2 separate regions of the Homo sapiens genome follow, and region 2 is linked to region 1. The links are contacts of gene promoters, found by promoter capture Hi-C in human tissues and cell types (Jung and others, 2019). All regions are on one chromosome and are shown on one strand. Each heading gives the region's core, a stretch centred on a gene start or on the middle of the fragment in contact. The rest is flanking DNA. Distances are from core to core; before and after follow the strand shown. Region 1 holds the start of KMT2C (lysine methyltransferase 2C). Region 2 overlaps KMT2C (lysine methyltransferase 2C).

Region 1 (4,780 bases), core at 363-2,862:
TCAAGAGCTCAATGGGTTCCCACAACCCAGCTCTGCTATGCCTCAGTTCACGCTACTATTTTTACTACAAATCACCAAACAACAATACTATTACTAAGTGAATGCACCCGAACCAAAGAAACAGCCTATCCATAAACGTGCTGGCTTCCTTCACGTCCCAGCGCACCCTTCCACTCCCGACAGTTCAATGAGAATATCATCTCACGAAATGAGTAAGCACACACGCCATTCTACAACTTCGAGAGACATTCACAGTTCTTCCACGGCACACGCGAGAGCCACAGAAGCCGAGCAGTTCGCTGGCACTAAAACGGTGTCTTAATTTACAAGCAAAGCCGTCAAATAACCGTTCTGTAAGAAGACATTTCTGGTCCTCTAATAAGCTGGGGTCCAGCCCTACTGTACGCTCAAAGGCAGGCGACCCTATTCCCAAGCCCCTTACAGCTAAGACTTACGAGGGAAGCGACATTTACATCTGCACTCTCTCCGAATAAGTGCTCTTGGTATTCTGCCTTACGAGGGGACGCTGGCTACGTCTCCAAAACTTAGGCAGGCCGTTCCCCGAAGCTGGGGGATCCCACAGGACTTGTGCTTTCGGAGCCCGGGAGTGCGGTGCTGGGTGTTGGGGGAGGGGGGAGGAAGAAGTCAAATGGCTTCCTAATATATCATCAAAAGAAGAAAACACAGGTTTGGGACCAGGAAAAGTTCCAGGAGCAAGTCGCTGACAAACAAAAGCTGCACTCGCCCGGCCGCTTTCTTCTCGCCCCCAGCCCGCGCCCCGAGACCACCTGGCCCGGGCGTTTTGACAGCTCCGAGAGTTTCCCGAGCGCCGACGGCTCGGCGGTTCGCCCGGAGTCCGTCCGGGGACTACCTGGGCGCGCTCCGGGCTTGTTTTCTCAATGATCCAGCTAGGCCAAGACGCGGCTACGAGAAATTTCTCCAAAAGAAGAGTCGCGGAGAAGACCCAGTGAAAAGGCCCGACTGAAAAGTAAAGTGTGCGGAGCCGGGCGCCGGCGGGAGCCCGGGCGGGCGGCGCGGAGCGGGGGAGGCCGGGCGCGGGCGGCTACCGAGGGGCGCGGGGCCGGGGCCGGGAGCCGCCACCGCCCGCGGGCCCGCCCCGCCCCCACCCCGCCGGGGGGCGCCGGGGCGCGGAGGCCGCGGGGCGGGCGCCCGGTGACAGCTCCGGCCCGGCGCCGCCGCTGGCTCCCGGCCTGGCTCCCTCGCACTCAACTTACTTCTTTCTGGCTCTCTGGAAAGGGGAAGCGCCATCTTTGCGAGGCCGGCCCCGAGGTCTTTTGTCTGCGGCTGCGGGGCTCGGGGCCGGGGCTCCAGGCTCCTCGGGGGGTGGTGGCGGCGGCTGCGGCTGCTCCACGCTCTTGTCCTCCTCCGACGACATCCTAGTCACCAGGAAAGACACATGGATCCCGGTCCTCCTCCTGGGGGGCTCCCGCCGCCGCGGCCGCCGCCGCCGCCGCTGCTGCTCGGGTTCCTCCTCCCCGGCTCAGCCTCTCGCATTTCCCGCAGCCCCGGGAGCAGCAGCAGGTACCGGGAGAGGCGGCAACATGGAGCGAGCAGGACACGCACTCACACACATCGGCGCGGGCGCGCGCACCTCCGCGCGCAGGGGCCGGGCGGGGGGCGGCGGGCGGGGCGGGCGGTGCGGGGCGGGCGGGGCCGGCGGGTGCGGGCGGGCGGGGCAGCCGGGCGGGCGGGCGGCGTGAGGGGCGCCGGCCCCCGGGGTCTCCGCCCGCGGCCCCTCCCCCGAGCCGCCCGCGGCAGGAGGAGAAAGGGGCCCGGCGCGGGGAGGGCCGGCCGCGGGGCCCGGCGGGGGCGGCGAGGGGGTCGCGCCCCCGGCCGGCCGCCCCTCCCCCGCGCGTCAGGCCCGTCAGGCCCGGGCGGCGGCGGCGGCGAAGTTTTGACAGCTGCTCCAGTGGCGGCGCTGGGCGCCGGGCCGCGGCTCGCTCCTCACACTCGCTCTCTCACACACGCTCGCTCGCTCTCCCGGAGCAGGGGAGGAGGAAGTTTTGCGGGTGTGCTTGGACCCCACACACACGCCGCGCGACCGTGGCCGTCGCGCGAGGCCCGCGCCGGGGATCCCCCGGGGCGACCCGCACCACAGACCTCTCCAACTCGCAGCCGTCGCGCCCACACACCGCCGCCTCGACGGCCCCCGCCCGCTCCCCCACACTCGGCCCCTCGCCCGCCCCCCGCGCGCCGCCGCTGCCACTCACGGGCCTCGCTCCGCGCATGCGCCGCTCCCGCCGCCCGCGGACGCGCCGCCGCCGCTGACCTCACCGCCCCTCCCCCTCCCCCCCGGGTTCCCTCCCCCTGTGACGCGGCGGCCGGGCCCAGCCGCGACTCCGGCTCCGGCTCCGGCTCCGGCTCGGGAGGTAGCCAAGCTGTGGACCCAGAGATCCGGGATCGGGATCGGGGAACTGCGGGCGAGGGCGGGAGGGAGCCGCGGACACACGCCGAGGCGGCCGCGGTCGCCCGGCGCAGCCCGGCGCGAGGAGCAAATGTGCGCCCGCACGGCGAGGGCAGCCCGGGCTTCGCTGGTTCTCGCCGAGGTCTTTCCTCGTAGCGCCCACACTACGGGGAGGAAAAGGAATGGAGTCAACTTCGTTCGAATCCAACGCCAGTTAGTTTCCTTATTATAACGTCATTTTTTTTAATCCAGAAAAGGTTCATAAGGATGTAAGACGAAAAGAACGATGACAGCTCGAGAAATAAAACGGTTAGAGACAAAATAAGCCAATAAAAACCCAACCACTTGATTTTAACGTTCAGTGTGTTGTGATGAAGAGGCAAAAATCGAAGTACTTCTAAGCCACCTCTCATAATATGTAAAAATGGTAAAAAGAAAAATGGGGCTAGAATCCGCCTGAAAAATGCACTTTCTCAAGAAGGACAGTTACAAATATGGGATTCTGGATTTCTCAGGCTAATACCTAACACTTGGACGATGATCTATTCTGTGCTTTCCATTCACTATCGATTAGTTTATGAGAGTGAAAAAATTCTAGATTTGAATGGGGGGAAATAGTAAGACCTATCAACCATTTGTGAAGGATTGGGGTAAACTATCATTTAATAAGCATCTACTTTGGGCCTAGCGTTAAGAGGCACACTCTCATGTTGATTTCTTTTGATCTTCGCAGTGTAGTTTTAGTGTAAGGTAAAAAAAAATAGGCTCCTTTTCCAGCGATGTTTGCTTTCCCTTCTAGTAGCTAGGATGTTAACTTTAAACTGTGTCTTCTACTTGGGCAAAATACACACACTTTGATTCCCAGAGCCTATTCTAAATGAAAGCATAATTTTTTGAAATGGCTGAAATGAGGAATAACGTCAGATAGTCATTTGAATACCTTCAGGGTTTAATCCCTGCTGGCTCTTTCAAATTTACTAAATTTATAACCAAAGGAAATTTGGGATTGAGGAGGAGGCTGGCATGGTAAATGCAAACTAGAAATTAAAAGTGCCTGACGATTACACATAGAAATACAACATATATGTGACTAGTGATAAACATATGATGTGATCTAGTGAAAGTTTACTCAGTACAAATTTGAAAGCACCCTTTCTTTTTTCATTTTCTTCAGCACATTGTACTTTAAATAAAGTGTGCTTTCAAAACTGGATTATTGATCCAAATATTTAGCTGTGTTCCGTACTGAAATTAGAATAGGCACTTCCACGGTGAGTTTCACATGTACAAAATTATACATCAGGATAATTTACTTCCATACGCTTCTCCAGCACTTCTGAGAACTTAAGTGTCAGTGGATACAAATTGCAAGTCACTCCTGCTGGAGAGTTCACAAGAAACAAAGGGTACTAAGAGCAGAAAAGTGAGCCGAGTGAATGGAAGGGTAGAAACAGAGGTTTGTGCAGGGATGCTTCTGGATAGATGATGATGCAGGTAAGTAAACTCAGCCTGAAATCTCCATTCCTTTGGCCACTATGAGCAGGGAGTTGGGATCTGTTTTAAGAGAGCTGATAGCAGTCTCCTTGGCATGAAGTTATCATGAACAGAGCAAATCAAATATAACCCAGGATGCTGAGGAAGGATTCAAGGAATACTTATTCAACATAAATAAAGGTTTTCCAGAGGTTTTTCCGTCTCAGTCATCCAAATTACACAGCTCTGAGACCACAGTAGCAAAAATCTAGGAGGCAGGGAGCTGAGGTCCTTCAAAATTATGAAAGCAAAAAGGCAGGAGCATCTGGAAACAGTACCAAATACAACAGAAAAATATTAGAATGTGTACTTTCTAATAAGTATACATGTTAAATATGGGATTTTAAATTTAGGTAGATGTGTACTAACCTGTTAACCAATCATCTGCAAAGGGGTGAATTACAAGGGACTTTTACTGTCTAAAATATTTGAATATTTCAAAGCACATGTAGTAATCATCTAATCATATATATATATATATATATGTAGTTTTTAATGGGGAGGGAATGAGCATTGTTATCTTTGACAAAGAAAAACCAACATCTCAGAAAAATATAGGCAAGGAAGATTCTCAAAGCATCTAGCAAACAAGTGACAGTGAATAAAAATTCATAGTCCAATATTCATTCTTACTAATTGAAGGCCTATAACATGTGATTGTCTTTATTTAGAATGCACAGGTTCACTACTAAATGTTGTCTCTCTTGTTTTCCCATAAATTCCTCAGGGCTTTTTAGGAACCAAACTTTCACTGTTATAGAAGGACCACTGAAAGCTTAAATTTTAGATCTTAGAATTTTTGTGTTCATATTGTTATTATTA
Region 2 (4,426 bases), core at 1-2,500, 76 kb before region 1:
TTTTCCCCCTACTTCGAGGTCTACAGAAAAAAAAAAAAATAATAAGTACATAGAGTTAAATGTTAAATTTTAAGGCTTAGACTTATATTCAACATAAGGCACAATTTGAAGGTATACAAAATAAGTAATTAGGGCATTTTTCCAGCATTTTACCATATCAAGTAGAAAATATCAGAGTTTACAGTCATTTTCTCCCTTAAATCCAGCACTTCCTTATACTCTAAATGTGAGGACAGACCCACATGAATATAATTGTGTCCTCATAATTCACTTAAGTATTCCTCACTCTGGTTTTGCCCCTTTTTTAGGTAACCTTCTGAAGTCTCCCTCTGTCTACAGTAGTGGCTTTTAACTACATAATGGGTTCTTCACAAAGTTCACATACCAGGTTTAACTTCTATATTTAATAAAGTTGATGTGAAATGACCAGATATATGTATTTTTAAAAGCTTTGTAAAAGGTGCTTTTGGTGACTGTGATGCAGATGACTAAAAAACAAAATTTTAAAAATTAAGCACGATTATAATCATGTCCACCTTACAAGCATAATAAAATTTAATTTATAAACACTTCAGGAAAGTAAAATAAAGGTAAGAGTCACAGCAAGGTGAAATTCCTGACAGAAAGCAATTGAAAAAAAAAAAAAAAACTAATGCCTTTAAATTCTTTGAATTGTACTAAATACGGTATAGAAATGAGTAAAAGAAAAATTAATAACACATAAGAGCAACAAGATATTACACATAAAAACTTGGAAACTGACAAAGCAGTACTCAGATAATGTCAGTGTTTTAAATTATTTCGCAGTATTTTAAACTCTTTAAAAGAAAAAGGCTGGGTAAGGTGGCTCACACCTGTAACCCCAGCACTTTGGAGGGTCGAGTTAGATGGATCATTTGAGTGCAAGAGTTCAAGACCAGCCTGGCCATCATGGCGAAACCCCATCTCTACCAAAAAAAAAATTCAAAAATTAGGCAAACATGGTGGCGTGCCAGTAATTCCAGCTAAAGAAAAAAAACAAAGAAGGGAGGGAGGGAGGAAATAGAAAGAAAAAATACAAATCAACTCAGTATTTAATTGAAAAACATAAAACATTTAAAAAGTGAAAAACAGCTGGCTGTGGTGGCTCACATCTGTAATCCCAGCACTTTGGGAGGCTGAGGCAGATATATCACCTGAGGTCAGGAGGTCACGAACAGCCTGGCCAACATGGTGAAACTCCGTCTCTACTAAAAATACAAAAATTAGCCAGGTGTTGTGGCGTGTGCCTGTAATCCCAGCTACTTGGGAGGCTGAGGCACAAGAATCGCTTGAACCTGACAGATGGAGGTTGCAGTGAGCTGATATCATGCCACTGCACTCCAGCCTGGGCGACAGAGTGAGACTGTCTCAAACACACAAACAAAAAAAAGGGGGGTGGGGGGGGGGGGACAATATGAAATAAAAGAATAATATGAAAAAAGAATAAAACAAAGAACTATGTTTTAAACAATAAGAAATCCATTTAAGTCTTGTTCTCATAAAAAAGTTAACCAACCTAGGCCAGGCACAGTAACTCACGCCTGTAATCCTAGTACTTTGGGAGGCCGAGGTGGGTGGATCACCTGAGGTCAGGAGTTCAAGACCAGCCTGGCCTACGTGGCGAAACCTCGTCTCTACTAAAAATACAAAAATTAGCTGGACGTGTTGATGCACATCTGTAATCCCAGCTACTCAGGAGGCTGAGGCAGGAGAATCGCTTGAACCCAGTGGGCAGGAGGTGCAGTGAGCCGAGATCACACCATTGCACTCCAGCCTGGGCAACAAGAGTGAAACTCTGTCTCAAAAAAAAAAAGTTAACCAACCTAAACCATGAAGGAGCTATAACATAATAATATATTAAAAATTAAGGTGACCAGCCGGGCGTAGTGGCTCACACCTGTAATCCCAGCACTCTGAGAGGCCGAGGCAGGCAGATCACCTGAGGTAGGGAGTTCGAGACCAGCCTGACCAACATGGAGAAACCCCGTCACTACTAAAAAAAATACAAAAACAAAAAGAAAAATTAGCTGGGCATGGTGGCACATGCCTGTAATCCCAGCTACTCGAGAGGCTAAGGCAGGAGAATTGCTTGAACCTGGGAGGCAGAAGTTGCGGTGAGCCGAGATTGCACCACTGCACTCCAGCCTGGGCAACAAGGGCGAAATTCTATCTCAAAAAGAAAAAAAAATTGAAGTAATCAAAGCCTAAATGGTTTTATAATTAAACTACTAAAAACTATCAAAAAGTCGGTCTTAACCAAAAATAAAAAAAAGGAAGTACCTGACTCAGAATTCCAACAAACATTGTCAAAAACTATGAATGAAAATAAAAACTGAGAACAATCCTATTGAATATAATCAGAATGCCAGGATGATTCAACATTAGAAATTTGTTAATGTTACATAACAAGTCAAGCAGTCAAAATAGCATCACTTCAAACTTCACAGGGGGAAAGGGGAAAGAAGGCAGAACTAAATAAAAAGACTACAAAACCTGAAAGATGAAAAAGGGTGAATTAGGGAGAAAACACTCTAAGGTGGATCTTATTGTTCATGGACAAAAAGAAAGAACATCTTTAGAATTTATTAAGTAGTTGTTTTTAGGCTGGGCACGGTGGCTCACGCCTGTAATCCCAGCACTTTGGGAGGCTGAGGTGGGTGGATCACGAGGTCAGGAGATCGAGACCATCCTGGCTAACACGGTGAAACCCCGTCTCTACTAAAAATATACAAAAAAATTAGCCGGGCGTGGTAGTGGGCGCCTGTAGTCCCAGCTACTCGGGAGGCTGAGGCAGGAGAATGGCGTGAACCCGGGAGGCAGAGGTTGCGGTGAGCTGAGATCACACCATTGCACTCCAGCCTGGGCAACAAGAGAGAAACTCCGTCTCAAAAAAAAAGAATTTATTAAGTAGTTGTTTTTAAATTTGATAGAAAACATTAAAATAAAGTGGAAAGAAGGGATAAGAAAATTTGATCAATCCAACAGCAGGCAGAAAAGGAATGAAAACAAATGGTACATAGAAAATAACATAAAAAGATAAATATAAATATGAATTTTCACAGTAAACATAAATGGCTTAAACTGTCATAATGATAAAAAAATTAATTTACTTGGATAACATAAGAGAACTTCAGATTACATAAAGCAAACATTTACAGAACAAAGAGAAATTGGTAACTAATCATTAGAGAGATATTAACATCCCACTGTCGGAAACTGATAGATGAAACATTATAGTTTGAAGCATTTTAAACAAGTATTTGGACAACACATTGAGCAAGCATTACTAGATTACTCTATCAATCTTCCTTTGTGTCTGACTCTGTTCAAACACAGTGGATACAGAAATAAATAAAACAAAATCCCTCCTGTCACAAAACTACATTCTAGTGAGAAGAGACAACAGTAAACAAGTATTACACATACAACATCCAACAAAAGAAAGCAAAGAAAAAGGGACTAGCTATTTTAAATAACAGATTTATAAAATAAATGTTTTAAAATAAAATTTTGTAAGGAGCCACTTTAGCACAGAACTGAAGATGAAGCAAACCATACAGATATCTGGGAGAAAAGCATTGCAGTAGAAGTAACAGCAAATGCAAAATTCTTGAGATGAGAGCAAGTGAGGGGGGTTAGAGGGACAAGAAGGATATACGGTGGCTGGGGCAGAGTCAGCGGTAGGGGGTAAGAAGGCATGAGGTCTAAGAATTTTTTTTTAATAGGATCACTTTTTGTTTAGAAACCTGTAGACCAATACAAGAACTGGGGACTGGGAGACTAGAAATCCTCGAAACAATCCCAACATGGCTGCTTCAAAGAAAATAGAGAATGACAAAATAATTCACATGCCATTATGGAGGTAGAGTTTACTTTTCATCTTTCTTTTGTGATTTTTCATAATCATAAACATCCACTTTTAAAGAAATTGGAAACCGTATGGTTTAGCTGACTTTTTAACTTAATCTCTCAGACCCATGTTTTGCTCTACTTTGAGTTTTTTCTCCACTATCTTGACCATCACTGTCTATGCTGTTGTTTGTTTTGGCACAACTGGCTTTATTTCAAGCTCGTTCTGTCTAGTTTATAATCTCTATCAACATATCAGTTATCTGCATTGCCCTACTTACTCCTTAAAAAATAATTTTGATTTTAATTTTTGCTTTTCAAATTTTTCTTCTGATTTCTATTCTTGGTTTTGGCACTAGGAAGACATGCTTTTTACGTTGATCAATTCATCAGAATTCCTTTCCTTCTGGGCAATGGACCAACTTATTGACATCATGTCATTTTCGAATTCTTTTATTTCATCGGTGTCCTTATTGCTGCTCATTGGCTTCTGCCATGTGACTTTTCTGACTAATCAAACACTATATTCTGAATGCAAAGATAATGGTCATACTCT

What was found. The method cuts DNA at HindIII sites, captures the fragments that hold promoters and counts their contacts. A contact is called where the count stands out against the background at its distance.
Region 2: a fragment that was not itself captured here is called in contact with the fragment with the promoter of KMT2C in region 1 in 2 of the 25 tissues and cell types used here (H1 embryonic stem cells and neural progenitor cells).

The regions. Positions count from the first base shown.
Region 1 is chr7:152,434,391-152,439,170 of GRCh38, forward strand. KMT2C (lysine methyltransferase 2C) reads right to left here and starts at 1,613. Exons shown (of 59, transcript NM_170606.3): 1 at 1,236-1,613. The coding sequence starts at 1,396. It also overlaps the pseudogene FABP5P3. RefSeq lists enhancers at 40-109, 580-629, 670-899 and silencers at 1,380-1,439, 1,820-1,869, 1,960-2,249, 2,290-2,629. The HindIII fragment of the contact is 14,314 bases long and covers 1-4,780 here.
Region 2 is chr7:152,358,656-152,363,081 of GRCh38, forward strand. KMT2C (lysine methyltransferase 2C) reads right to left here. Exons shown (of 59, transcript NM_170606.3): 2 at 1-20. Among named protein-coding and RNA genes, the nearest start is that of KMT2C, 75 kb to the right of the region's middle. The HindIII fragment of the contact is 6,489 bases long and covers 1-4,426 here.